Linked DNA regions of Homo sapiens: region 1 is linked to region 2. Evidence: promoter capture Hi-C in human tissues and cell types (Jung and others, 2019). All regions are on one chromosome and are shown on one strand. The core of a region is centred on a gene start or on the middle of the fragment in contact, and the rest is flanking DNA. Distances in the headings are between cores, read along the strand shown. Region 1 overlaps NSD1 (nuclear receptor binding SET domain protein 1). Region 2 holds the start of LMAN2 (lectin, mannose binding 2).

Evidence for each region. Contacts are between HindIII fragments. The study calls those that stand out against the background at their distance.
Region 1: a contact is called between a fragment that was not itself captured here and the fragment with the promoter of LMAN2 in region 2, in 5 of the 25 tissues and cell types used here (IMR-90 fibroblasts, bladder, dorsolateral prefrontal cortex and 2 more).

The regions. Positions count from the first base shown.
Region 1 is chr5:177,261,722-177,269,497 of GRCh38, forward strand. NSD1 (nuclear receptor binding SET domain protein 1) reads left to right here. Exons shown (of 23, transcript NM_022455.5): 15 at 5,841-5,997. It also overlaps the pseudogene RPL21P60 and the pseudogene PRMT1P1. Among named protein-coding and RNA genes, the nearest start is that of RAB24, 38 kb to the right of the region's middle. RefSeq lists enhancers at 3,436-4,328, 4,329-5,220, 7,721-7,776. The HindIII fragment of the contact is 7,250 bases long and covers 1,230-7,776 here.
Region 2 is chr5:177,347,882-177,354,656 of GRCh38, forward strand. LMAN2 (lectin, mannose binding 2) reads right to left here and starts at 3,787. Exons shown (of 8, transcript NM_006816.3): 1 at 3,571-3,787; 2 at 3,292-3,410. The coding sequence starts at 3,766. RefSeq lists enhancers at 3,728-3,917, 3,928-3,977 and a silencer at 3,872-4,086. The HindIII fragment of the contact is 12,408 bases long and covers 455-6,775 here.

The DNA of each region.
Region 1 (7,776 bases), core at 3,605-6,104, 85 kb before region 2:
TAAGTTCATTGTGGACTTTGCTCCACTATTTTCTAGTGATGAGAGTGGCACCAGTTCTTCAGTTTTCTCATTTATTTTCAGATTTTATTTTGTTGATTTAGTAGTTACTTGGCAATAATTTTTTTATTATCTACTTATTGATTATGCAGTTTCCTGAAAACCTGGCTGGCTCTGAACATTCTGAGGGACTAATTTTAAAAAGAGTCAATATATGTAATAGAATGAGCATTGTACTTTGAATCTCAAAGTCCAAGTTTGAATTCTGGCTTGTCTCTTCAGGCAAATTGCTTTACCAAGGCTTGGTTTGCTTGTTTATAAAATATAGGCTCTATTCCCTATCACACAGTCATATTATAATAGCATCAATTAAATGAAAAGATATGATTAAAGCCCTTGCACAGTGAGAAAATAAGTTTAAATGGTCTCTGGTCTCATTTTTAATCCTCTGTAGGGCTGACTTTTTCTGCAGCCTGCCTCATTTTGTTTGATTTTCTTCTAAAAATTATCTTTGTTATTACCCACTTTCCCTGCAAGATGACTTCCTTCAAGAAAACAATACCTTCTTTTTCTTTCCTCTTTCTTAAGATATCACTAAAGAAGCCGAACACGGTGGTGCATGCCTGTAGTCCCAGCTATTCAGGTGGCCAAGGTGGGGAGGATTGCTTGAGCCCAGGAATTCAAGACCAGCCTGGGCAATATAGCGAGACTGACCTCATAAACAAAACAAAACAAAAAACAACCAAAAAAATAGATACCACTGTGAAAGGAAAATAAATCCCAGGAGGCCCAAATCACTAAGCCAAGGGAAAAGTCAAGCTTGGAACTACATCAGGCAAACCTGCCTCCCATTTTATTCCTCAATAATACAGCTACAAGGCTGGGCGCCATGGCTCATGCCTCTAATCCCAGCACTTTGGGAGGCTGAGGCAGGCGGATCACCTGAGGTCAGGAGTTCGAGACCAGCCTGGCCAACATGGCGAAACCCCATCTCTGCTAAAAATACAAAACTTAGCCAGGCGTGATGGCAGACACCTGTAATCCCAGCTACTTGGGAAGCTGAGGCAGGAGAATTGCTCTGTTCTGTTGAATTTCACCCTGGCAATGGAAACCGATAGCTTATCTTCACAGGTGTGGGACAGAAAGTCATCCCTATGCTCATCTGAGACAAATGCGTACCTCATTGCTTCCTCTGCCCTATTTATGTAAAAATGCAGTTTCACTGAGCCAGATTAAATTGTGTATTCAGTGAAAGGCTGATGAAGGATTCAAAAGAATGCAACCTTTTGTCTTTTACCTACTTATGACCTGGAACCCCAACCCCCTATCAGAACCAATGACAATGTTACACATACTGATGTCTCTTATCTCCCTAAAATATATAAAAGCAAGCTGTACCCCCACCACCTTAGGCACATGTTGCCAGGATCTCCTGAGGTTGTGTCATGGACGTGATCGTCACCTTGGCAAAATAAACTTTCTAAATTGGTTGAGACTTGTCTGACATATTTTGAATTCACATCACTAAGGAGATTTGTATTATCAGGTGTATGTATATGCCAATAATTCTGTAAAAGAAGAATTTTCCTTACTTGAGATATATTGTTTCTGTAGCCAAAGACTGGAGTTTAGTTAATTCTGGAAGCTTTTTTTACTTAGTTGAAATCTGACAGCTAGTACACAGTCAATGGATTGGTAAAACTGCTGCCACCTTAGTATAAACCAAGGCACTACCTCCAAACCAATACAAGTAAGCAGTCATCGTGTTCTGTATCATCACCTACTCGCAGTAAAAGCATGGCAGTTTCACCTTAGAAGTTTCTTGAAGTAAAACACCTTAGTTTTATTATATCTTGTCCATGAAGTCAACATTGTTTTTCTATTCTCTGTGATGAAGTGGGAAGTACACGTAAAGCAGTTTCTTTGCATACTGATGGTTATCTTGAGTTAAAGCACTCATGCAACTGAGTTTCAAGCTGAACTATCCACATTGTTCATGGAACACCGTTTTTAATTGTAAGAGTTACTGATAAACTATGGTTATTCATGCTTGGATATTTGGCAGACATTTACTTGAAAATGAACAACTGTGAGCCTATCAATTCAAGAAAAAGAACTGCAAAATAATGGCGAATGATAAAATTTGAGCTTTTAAGTGAAAATTAAAATTTTCGTAAACTATTGTCTGCTACCTTCAGTTTGACAATTTCTTAGTACTTACTGATTGGATCATGGTAGTATTAATAAATGTGATTTTAAAAGTATAATGAAATAGGCCATTTAGAAGATGCATATGACTCAATGAACCAATTTTTTTTTTTTTTTTTTTTTTTTTTGAGATGGAGTCTGGCTGTGTCGTCAGGCTGGAGTGCAGTGGCGCTATCTTGGCTCACTGCAACCCCCACCTCCCGGGTTCAAGCGATCCTCCTGCCTTAGCCTCCTGAGTAGCTGGGACTACAGGCATGTGCCACTATGCCCAGCTAATTTTTTGTATTTTTAGTAGAGATGAGGCAATATTTTTAATATAGCTAATGCATGATGTTAAAAACTTTGCATATGTAAAAGATGCATTCAAAATAGAAGACAGATCAATGAATTTTAGTGTAGTCATTTTAAGTTTAGTGACATAGTTTCAGTTTCCACATTGCAACTATACACTGTGGAGTTTTAGCATAGTATCTAAGAATGAATATCCACAGTTCTGAACAGGTTATTTTAGCACTCTTTTCCAGCAATATATCTCTGAGAGGCCATACTTTCTTCACGTATGTCAAACAAATAACATATTGCAACATAATTGTTCTTCAGACTTGTTTTTTAGCAGCAGACACATTTCCAAATGTAATCTTACTCTGAATCTGAGCTTCACTATACAATACAGACAAAAGTGAGCTTTTCCAGTTGAAGTAGGAGTCTGATCTGAAACACACCCCTGGCCCCAACAAAAACAAATAAAACTCCCACTCTTATTTTAAGAGCTTGTTGAAGAGAATTATTAAGTAAAGGCCCTTTTGGCCGAAACTGCCATCTTCCTGTAATTCGCCAAAATGACAAACACAAAGGGAAAGAGGAGAGGCACCCAGTACATGTTCTGTAGGCCTTTTAGAAAACATGGAGTTGTTCCTTTGGCCGCATATATGCGAATCTATAAGAAAGGTGATATTGTAGACATCAAAGGAATGGGTACTCTTCAAAAAGGAATGCCCCACAAGTGTTATCATGGCAAAACTGGAAGAGTCTACAGTGTTACCCAGCATGCTGTTGGCATTGTTGTAAACAAACAAGGGCAAGATTCTTGCCAAGAGATTTCATGTGCATATTGAGCACATTAAGCACTCCTAAGAGCCAAGATAGCTTCCTGAAACATGTGAAGGAAAATGATCAGAAAAAGAAGCCAAAGAGAAAGTTAACCTGGGTTCAACTGAAGCACTAGCTTGCTCCACTCAGAGAAGCATACTTTGTGAGAACCAATGGGAAGGAGTCTGAGCTGCTGGAACCTATTCCCTATGAATTCATGGCATCATAGGTGTTAAAAAAAATAAAAGACCTCTGGACTGTTAAAAAAAAAAAGCAAAAGTCAGCATGGGAATAAATTATATATAAAGTGCCAACAGAAGTATGTTTATAGTAAGAATTTTTTTTGTTTCCCAGCTGAAGATTTATTGGCATAAATGCAGCCATCTAAAAACATAAGTTATGAAAAACAGTCATGATGTGCCCTCCCCATCCCCCCAGCCCAGGCCCCTAAAACCTCCTCTGGGGGAGGGAGGGAGAGAGAGAGGAAGGGGGAGCCCCACAACCGTCTAGGAATGCTCAGCCCCTGGGCCCGTGCAGGGCGGGAGAGCCGGGCCTCAGCACATCCTGTAGTCTGTGGAGCAGGACAGGTCGCACAGATGGCCCCTGAAATCTAGGTTGATGGTGAAGTCCCGGTCCCAGTTCTTGGCGTTGGGCCGCATGCCGATGGTGCCGAAGATCTCCTCGCCCGTCTTCAAGGTCAGGTAGTCCTCCATGTAGAACACCGTCTGCTTCCAGTGCGTGTACAGGGACTCGGGTATGGTGGAGAAGCCGGTCCCTCCGGTCCTCTTGTGGCAGTGCGTAAACTCGATGTTGAAGTAGGCCACCTGGGTGTGCACGTAGTCATTCTGCTTCACTTGCAGGCAGAACGGGGAGGTGAAGGTCAGGTCTTCCACCTTGACGGTGTAGATGTCTACCTCCTTTATGAGGCAGGCGTTGGTAACCAGCTGTTTGAGGTCCACCACATCCACTAGGGTTTCCTTGATGGCCACATCTTTGATGCAAGATATATCGAAGCCATAAACGTTCTCCCACCAGTGGATCTTGTAGTCTTTGTACTGCCGGTCCTCGGTGGCCGTCACATACAGTGTGGCCCGTTCTGGGAAGATGAGGCTATTGGGCGCCAGCCACTTGTCCGGGCATAGAGCACAGTGTTGAGCATGGACTCGTAGAAGAGGCAGTTAGCCCATCCACTTGCTGATGATGATGTTCACCTTTTCCACCGGGAGCTCTATCTCCTCCACCTTCCCCTTGGTGATGGTCACCAAGTGGTCTAACTTGTTGGCTTTGACAATCTTCACCGCATAATCAGAGCTACTGGAACACTCGATGCCGATGACCTTGCGGGCCCGGCCTTGGCGGCGAACATGCAGAGGATGCTTGTGTCCGAGCCCACATCCAGCACCACCTTGTCTTTAAAGAGGTGGCGGTTGTGAAACATGGAGTTGCCGAAGTGGGCGTAGGAGTCAAAGTAGTAATCTTTGGACGTCATGCCCTCGACGTTCGGCTTCTCGCTGCTTTCCGCCTGGCCACAGGACACCTCCATGATGCAGTTCACGACCTCGGCGGCCGCCATCTTCACCCGCACCTACTCCTCTTCCGGCCGCCAAGACCCCCGCCTTTTTCTATAGTAGGATTTTAAGAGGTGAAAGAAGCACAGTGAGAACAAGATTAACTCGGATATATTCTTTGCTAAGGCTTTACTCCCCACTTCAGGGTAAAACTTGGAATTACATGTTTGAGTCTAGCATGTTTGAATCATGCTCATTTCTGGCAAGAGCGTGGCTCATTTCTTTTTGGCAACAAAATAAAATGCCTGCCCGTCTGCTGAAACTACTGTGTTTTGAAAGCATTTATATATTTATTTATTTGAGGCAAGAGCCTTGCTGTCACCCTGGCTGGAGTGCAGTGGTGCTGTCTTGGCTCACTGCAACTTCCGCCTCCCAGGTTCAAGCAATTCTCCTGTCTTAGCCTCCCGAGTAGCTGGGAATACAGGCATGTGCCACCACGCGTGGCTAATTTTTTAGTAGATAGGGGGTTTCGCCCTGTTGGCCGGGCTGTTCTCTAACTCCTGACCTCAGGTGATCCACCTGCTGCAGCCTTCCAAAGTGCTGGGATTACAGGCCTGAGGCACTGTGCCCAGCCGAAAAGTTAGTAGTTCTAAAAGGAGGGAAGGAACTAACCATATGGAGATACTACTTATGTGTCAGACGCTACTAGGTAATTTATTAGCTAGGTGAATCTTCAAACAGATGTGGTTATTGTTTATTAGAGAAAACTCCTTACCGCTGAGGAAATTATAGCTCAGCAAGGAAAGTGAATTTCCCAAGGGCCTGTGGTCCTAGAGCTAGAATTCCAACCTGAACCTGACGAGAGTTAAATAAAGCTTATGCTGTTTATACTCTGGTCATTATGTGTCACTGATAATGTTTTTATTTAGTATATCTTTTAGTGAAGAGAAAGAAAATATATATATATATGTGTATGGATGTACACATACATGACTTGCAGTCTTGTGATCTGAATGCCACATTTTTTTATTCCCACAGGAGGCAGCCTTCTGTGCTGTGATTCTTGCCCTGCTGCTTTTCATCGTGAATGCCTGAACATTGATATCCCTGAAGGAAACTGGTATTGCAATGACTGTAAAGCAGGCAAAAAGCCACACTACAGGGAGATTGTCTGGGTAAAAGTTGGACGATACAGGTAAGCCTGAAGAATAGCACTCATCTCTTTTACCATCCTCTGTTTCTTGAGACCTCTCAGATACAATGCTTAACGTATTTCTAATGATCTACTTAATTACTCATGGTACTCCTCCCCTCTTCTTCTTGATTTTTTTCCTTATAGGAAGAGAAACCTAACTTTATGATTTACAATTATAGGAATAATACATGTTCTCTGTCGAAATTTTTTTTTCTTTTGTGTATTTTGTGAAAAGTTTTTTTTTTTTTTTTTAAATGAAAAGACAGTAATAATCTCACAAGGCAGGCGCATTGTTAACATTTCGGCATATGTACTCCCAGACGTACCAATACGCAGTTATGCCCCCCACCATCCAAAATAACTGTTTTTACAGATTATACTCTGTTATGTGTCTTGGGTTGTTTGTTTTGAGACAGGGTATCCTCTGTCACCCAGTCTGGAGTGCAGTGGTGTGATCATTGCTCACTGCAACTTCAAACTCCTGGGCTTAAGGGATCCTGCCGCCTCAGCCTCCTGAGTAGCTGAGACTACAGGTACATGCCACTGCACCCGGCCACTTTTTCTTTTTTAAAATATTTTGATTGAACATCACACACCGGGAACTGTTGTGGGGTGGGGGGTGGGGGGAGGGATAGCATTAGGAGATATACCTAATGCTAAATGACGAGTTAATGGGTGCAGCACACCAACATGGCACATGTATACATATGTAACAAACCACGTTGTGCACATGTACCCTAAAACTTAAAGTATAATAATAATAAAATTAAAAAATATATTTTGATTGAATATGGAAAGCACAAAGGATGTAACATGCATGACTTTAAAGAATGACAAAAGTGGCACCTGTGTATGTACCTCCCACTTAAAGAAATAGAACACTGTTGGTACTTTTGAGGTTTATTCCATGCCCTGATTCCATTCTCTCCTACCCCCAGAGGTAACCACTGTACTCAATTCTAGGTTTTTCATTCCTTCGCCCTTCTGTGAGAGTTTGTTTTCTTTGCTGTGTTTTAGACCTTTATGTAAAGGAATTATTGTTGATACATTTTCCTGCAACTTTTTTCATTCACTTTTATGCCCCTGAGATTCATCATAGTATTGTATAGTGGTTCATTCATAGTTCACTGTTCCTTTATGTAGTCACATAATGTCTAGTTCACTTATCCATTTTCCTGTTTGGACTGTGAACATTTGGTCAGTTTTTCTTGGTTTATATACTTGGGACCTTGAATATAAGTATATACTTATATACAAGTATATATTTGGTTTATATACTTAGGGCCTTCTCTAGGGCATTCTCTGGAGTAAAGTAGGTAGATAGAGGTTTCCAGCTTTAATAGGTAGTGCCAAATTGTCTCCCTAAAGTGGCTGTATAGTAATTTACATTCTTTGATTTTGTTTGTATGTGTTTGTGTTTTGATTTCTTGGTGCTGTTCTCCCATATTCCTACTAATTATTGAAGGTTTCCTTTTTAAAGACCAAATTGTATTTTATTTTGTATAGTGTACCATGGATAATACTATTATTTTCTTGATGTTGAGCATTTATACTTTTTCCAGTTTTTCCTTCTTATAATGCTTCAGTGAATGTTATTGTCATAACTCTCTGTTCCTATATCATTATTTCCTTTAAGTAGAATCCTTGAAGTAGAATAATTGAGTCTAAGGGAGTGCGCGCCTGTGTGGGAATGTGGGCAGATGTTTTCCAGCTTCTAGCACATACGACTTGTTTGTGTTCTAGTTAGGTTGTAAGAATGCCGTAAGATGGACTTTAATG
Region 2 (6,775 bases), core at 2,537-5,036:
GCTGAGGTGGGAAGATTGCTTGAGTCCAAGAGTTCAAGATAAGACTGGGCAACATAGTAAGATCCCATCTATAATAGAAATTTAAAATTTTAAAAATAACCCCATCTCCAACTACTATTTAAGAGAACACAGTTTCTCAGAATTCATGTACATAAAAACAAAAAGTAGAAGTGGTACTGAACTTGTCTTATTCTGACAGTATTATCCATCCAGATGGGGGTGGGGGGTGACATCCTACTGAGATCTCATGTTTCAAAAAATGTTTACTTTTGTATAATTACTCAAAAACTGTGTAATGCATTTACTTTTATCAAGTGTGTACAGATAATTATAATAATCTCAAACAAAATATTAAAAGTTTCAGTCTCAACAAAATTGAAAAGTTTAAATTATTATATTAATTTTACTTGCAGAAGAATATGGTAGGCTAATGAATAACATTTTCAAGCATTAAATATATTGCATTAGGATAATATTCTGTGTGGAAATGAAAGTACAAGTTCAATTAAAAAACTGACATACTGGCCAGGCACAGTGGCTCACACCTGTAATCCTAGCACTTTGGGAGGCCGAGGTGGGCAGATCACTTGAGGCCAGGAGTCGGAGACCAGCCTCGCAAACATGGCAAAACCTCATCTCTACTAAAAATACAAAAAATTAGCTGGACATGGCAGTGCGCGCCTGTAATCCCAGCTACTGGGGAGGCTGAGGCAGAAGAATCGCTTGAACTCGTGAGGTGGAGGTTGCAGTGAGCTGAGATCGCACCACTGCATTCCAGCCTGGGTGATAGAGCATGACTCTGTCTCAAAAAAAAAAAAAAAAAAAAAAAAAACCTCTACTAAAAACACAAAAACTAGCTGGGCGTGGTGGTGCACACCTGTAATTCCAGCTACTCAGGGGGCTGAGGCAGGAGAATCACTTGAACCAGGAAGGCGGAAGTTGCAGTGAGCCGAGACTGCGCCACTGCCCTCCAGCCTGGGTGACAGAACAAGACTCCGTCTCAAAAAAAAAAAAAAAAAAAGTGGATATCAAATTGCAATATTTAGATTCCACTGAATGTTTAAAATACTGAACAGTTTTAGTTTAAAATGTCAATATTTAAAATATGCTGTCATCCTTTGCAAATACTTAAACCTAATGACAAACAATTTTTGATGCCAACTTTTCAAAAGGTTGCTACAACAGCAAAGAAAGCTTAAAGACCACTGCCGCAGCCTCCGCACAAGACCCCCAAAAGGACAGGGCCTGAGCAGCCTCCCCAGGTCCTATGCTGCAGCCACCAGGCACTTAAGAGTTCTAGTCAACTCTGAGCCACTCCTTCATCTAGACCACCCCCCCTGCACCACAGCAGGAGCTATTTTATGGCTGCTCAGAAGACAGCAGGTGTTCAGGGAATGTTCGCCTGAGTGCATGCCTCTCCCGGATGGAGTGAATGAAGGAGATAAAAAAGGGAAAAGTTTAGGAAGCATCTCTCCAGCTCATTAAAGGAAGAGGCAGTTCTTGGGAAACACTGAACAGAAAATTCTGATTTCCAAGCCATTTCTTTCCAGAGTTTACAGGAAGCACTCCAAATGTTTCAGGAATATCAGCAGAGCCAAATAGAAAGGTGGAGGAAGGAAGGCAAAACAATTGTACTCCAGACTGAAAATTCGATGAAGGCAAGTGCAGAAGCCTCTCAGTCCTGTGACATCCTCGAGCCACTGATGATGCCAACCATCAGCTATCTACAACCAAAATGTAAGCCACTGTCTTAGATGCGTCTATTACTTGTGGCTACTCCTGATTTCTACAGTTCCAGCACTGTTTGCACCTTGCTTTCAAAAAATAATAATAATGCTATACTGAACTCATTTCCATGAAAAATATAAGGCTGAATTATCATTTCTTTAAAATATCTGAAAGCCCTAAGACAGAATGTGACAGAATGTGACTCGGGGGAGATAGGGTGGTTAATGAAGAAATGTCTGCGTGGGTGGCACTTGAATTGAGACTTAACAGATGAGAAGGAACCAAGCAGGCATGAGGAGCCAGGAGGCAGTGTCCCAGACAGAGGGAACAACAGGTGCAAAGGTCCTGAGGCAAGAAGGCAGCCAGGGGGGGCTGGAACAAAATTAACACAGAGAATGACTGGAGATGCACAAGGGGCCAGATTGTGCAGACATAATGCATGCTTACCCCTTCACAGGGGACTCCACGCTCTGAGGATCAGACTGAAAGCTGAAGAAAGTATCCGCAGATGCCACTAACAGCAGTGTGGAGGCTCGGGGCAGGAAGGAGAGGAGGAGCAGAGGGGACGGGCAGACCAGGCAACACAAGGACAGTGTGGGTTCCCAGAACTAAACAAGAAAGTCAACCAGCAGGGATCAGAGAGCAGGGTGATGGAGAAAACTAGAACACTGGCCAACAGCTTAAGCCATGGGAAGGGCTGAGATTAGGCAAGCTGGGGCAGGAGCAGGTCCCGCTCCAAGCTGTAACCCAGCCCCAAATTATTCTTCTTTCCCCTTTTTCCTCACCTTGACTGCCTCAGTGTGGATTCTGTGTAGCAGCTGTCATTGGCCACTGCTCACATACTACATACTACATACTCTGAGGCAAAGGTCACAGACACTAGAACTGCCCACAGGTCCAGTCCCTCCACACTACTGATGACAAGACCCTCAACCAAGCATTGCAAAAAGGGTTCTAAGGGGTTCCTCCACTGTCCAGGTGAAAAGAGTCAAGTACATCGAGTGAACTGCTGGGCTTAGAGATCAGACAAATCAGAGTTTAAATACTGTTTATGACATTTGCTAGCTGGGTTATCTTTGTATAGTCATGAAAGCCATCTATTTCAAACAGCTTGTTTGAAAATTAAATGCAATAAGGCATGGCAAGGTCAGTGCCTAATACACAGCAAAACACCCAATAAAGATCCAGTTCGCTCGGTTCTTCCCATTACTGAGGGGGTTCAAGGCAGACAGCCTGACAGTTCCACTACTTTCTGGCTATGTAACTTTGGGTAAGGCCCTTTCAAACCTGAGTCTTAGCTTCTCAGTGGGTAAAATGGAGATAACATTACTCATCTCGCATGGCTTTTAAAGTGAGGAGGATGTAAAGTGTCAAGCGCAGCTCCTGACACATAGTAAGTACCCAATACCCATCGCCTCTTATTATTGGTGGGTGTGACCGAGATGAGGAAAAGGCCAGGGACGGAGGTGCAAACCTATAAACGAAGCTGGGGTCTCAGCTGCTCGGGAGGCAGGGACTAGCAGCCAACCGCACAGTACGCCTATCCTCTTGAGAACCACTCACCTGGTGGTTCCAGATAGAGCCCTCTTTGCTGCGCTCGTCAGGGGTCAGACGTACGTACTGGCTCGTGAGCATAGTGCTGCCCTGGAAGTCCCAGAGGGGCATAGAGCTGGAACCGACCCCTGTGGGAAGAGACAGGTGCTAAGAGGCCACGCCAGGACTGGCCTCACCAGAGGCAGGAAACCCACAGAGATGCTCTGCTCAGGAGAAAGGGCACGCCTTCCCCTAGCCCTGTTCAGCCTCGCCCTCACTCTTCACTCATTCCCGCCCCAAGGGCTTCACCTTGGTAGGGCTTAATGAGCGAATGCTCCCGCTTGAGATGTTCACTGTTGCCGTCAGTTATATCCGCAGTCACAGACCCCAACAACAAAAGAAGAAAGAGAGGTGTAGTGGGGCCAGGGCCGGGGCCGAGAAGCCCAGGCCTTCCCAGGCACCGCCGGCCCCAGCCCCAACGCCAAATCCAGCCTTCCGCCGCCATTCTCCTCTCCTCTCGGCCACTTCCGCCCTAGAACTTCCGCCTTCCGGGGGTCCCATCTATTGGCCTCCGGCCGGAAGCTCTTCAACTTTACTGTCGCCAGGGAGTCAAAAAGCAAAGCCTCCGCAGCAGACGGGGCGGCAGCTGCATTGGCCGGGCAGCCTCTCATCCTGGTTGAGTGCAGTTTCATCTCCTTAGAGGCTCCAAGGCACACGCCGGCCAGCCCCAGCAATGGGTTCTTTCGAGCGACAAGAGCTGTAACCAGTCACGGAACAGCACGTTAGGCTTGCGAGCCAATGAGGAGCAGAGGGATGGTTGGAGCCGGCGGGAGCGCGAGGGCCGTCCGCGACTCGGGGCATGCTGGAATTTGTAGTTTTTGTCGGTCGCTCTAATGGGGCGGATTCGCGAAGACTAGGACGTCTTGGGCTTCTGGCCGCAAGTCCCGTCTCTGGAATAACCTTTTCTAGTCCTGGAGAAAGGAGCTCTGAATTGAAGGCGGAGTCCTGCATTCCAACCCTTGTCCTCCCCGGGTGGCCCTGGGCAAGCCTTTAAGCCGTGCCTGCCGTCAGGCGCCCCAGCTTCGCGCCTTTGGAGACTCAGAATTCCCAATTATTTGAGGGCCTCCACTACCCTCAACTCCTCAGGCCTAGTCGGGTTGAAGCAAGAGGAACAGACACAGATCCTGGCCTGGGACCCCAGTGATGACTGGAACTCATCCCTATGCAAAAGAGCGCAGTGCCTGGTACAGCAAGTAACGTCCATGGAAGGCCCAGGAAAGCTGTGAATCAGAGGTCGAAAACTGGTGGCCTGCAGCTGAATAGAGCTCTGTTTTACCTGCCAATATTCTAATAAATGGCTTAACTACCAGTATTTTAAAGTCAGAATATAGAGGCTGGGCGTGGTGGCTCACGCCTGTAATCCCAGCACTTTGGGAGGCTGAGGCCGGCGGATCACGAGATCGGGAGATCGAGACCATCCTGGCTAGCACGGTGAAACCCCGTCTCTACTAAAAAATACAAAAAATTAGCCGGGCGTGGTGGCAGGTGTCTGTAGTCCCAGCTACTCGGGAGGCTGAGCCAGGAGAATGGCTTGAACCCAGGAGGCAGAGCTTGCAGTGAGCCGAAATCGCGTCACTGCACTCCAGCCTGGGCGACAGAGCGAGACTCTGTCACACACACACACACACACACACACACACACACACACACACACAAAGTCGGAATATGTACATTCACATCAGAAATCCAGACTTCCGGCTGAGCTCAGTGGCTGAGGCCTGTAATCCTAGCACTTTGGGAGGCAGAGGCGAGCAGATTACCTGAGCTCAGGAGTTTCAGACCAGCCTGGGCAACACGGTGAAACCCCGTCTCTACTAAAATACAAAAGAAATTAACGGCGTGGTGGCGGACACCTGTAGTCCCAGCTACTCGGGAGGCTGAGGCAGGAGAATTGCTTGAACCCAGGAGGCAGAGGTTGCAGTGAGCAGAGATCACGCCATTGCATTCCAGCCGGGGCGACAGAGCAAGACTCTGTCTCTACAAAAAAAAAAAAAAAGAAGAAGAAGAAGAAGAAAAGAAATCCAGACTTCCGTTTTTTTACCCAAAAAAAAAAAAAAAGAAGCAGCAGCAAAAGATCTAGGCACACATTCCCACAACAGAACAATAGGCTGGAGCTGAATGGGACTGCCCCTCCACCAATGCCTTCCTCTTCTAAGCTGGTCCCCACCTGGTCACTCGTTTACAGCACTTGCCTGGCTCCTCCAGACATTTGAATCAATGACTCCTGTTGTAGATCACAGGGAGGGATGTTGGTTGCTTGCTCCTTTTAGAAACTGCCCTCTTGAATGAATGGACTTATTCAGGATTGAGTGCTGAATCTTTTCTTGGTCATATATTTTTCGTTCGCTTTTTTATTATTAAAGTCACACATTCTGGTCAGGCACGGTGGCTCACACCTGTAATCCCAGTAGTTTGGGAGGCCGAGGTGGGTGGATCACTTGAGGCTAGGAGTTCGAGACCAGCCTGGCCAACATAGCGAAACCCTGTCTCTACAAAAAATTAGCTGGGTGTGGTGGTGCACACTTGTAATCCCAGCTACTCAGGAGGCTGAGGCACGAGCATCACTTGCACCTGGGAGGTGGAGGTTGCAGTGAGCCAAGATCTTGCCACTGCACTCCAGCCTGAGTGACAGAGTGAGACTCTGTCTCAAAAAAGTCACACATTCTTGTGGTGTGTATGGAAACAGAGAGAGAACAGACATACAAGACACAACAAGCCAGGCATGGTGGCTCACACCTGTAATCCCAGCACTTTGGGAGGCCAAGGCAGGTGGATCACTTGAGGTCAGGAGTTCGAGACTACCCTGGCCAACATTGTGAAACCCTGTTTCTACTAAAAATACAAAAAATTAGCCGGCCATGGTGGCGGGTACCTATAATCCCAGCTACTCAGGAGGCTGAGGCAGGAGAATCACTCGAACCCAGGAAGCGGAGGTTGCAGTGAGCCAAAATTGTGCCATTGCACTCCAGCCTGGGCAACAAGAGTGAAACTCCATCTCAAAAAAAGAAAAGAAAAGAAAAGAAAAGACACAACAAAAGTCTTCTGCCACTCCCCTCGCAAGGAGTGTCCCCTTCCAGAGATTTATCTGCACCCATACAAACAAAAACATGCACATTCCATGGGACCTTCATGGGGCTGGGATTTTTGTCAGCTATGGTCACTACTGAATCCCTGGCATCTAGAATAGTGCTTGTCACATAGGAGGTGATTAATAAGTAACTGGTGAAAGAATGAATATTTGTTCTAGAACCTGGAATTGGGTCATGAAGAATGAGTAGGAGTTTTCCGGGAAAGGTAAAGGCATTCTCAGCAGAGAGAAGAGGAGCTGCAATCTAGGGAGGGATGTGTGAGAGCAGATGAAATACAAGTAGTTTGGAATGGCTGAGAAGTTGGAGTTGGGGGCTGCGGGGGAGCTGAAGCCAAAACTCAAAGGGCCTTCAATTCCCAAGTAAGG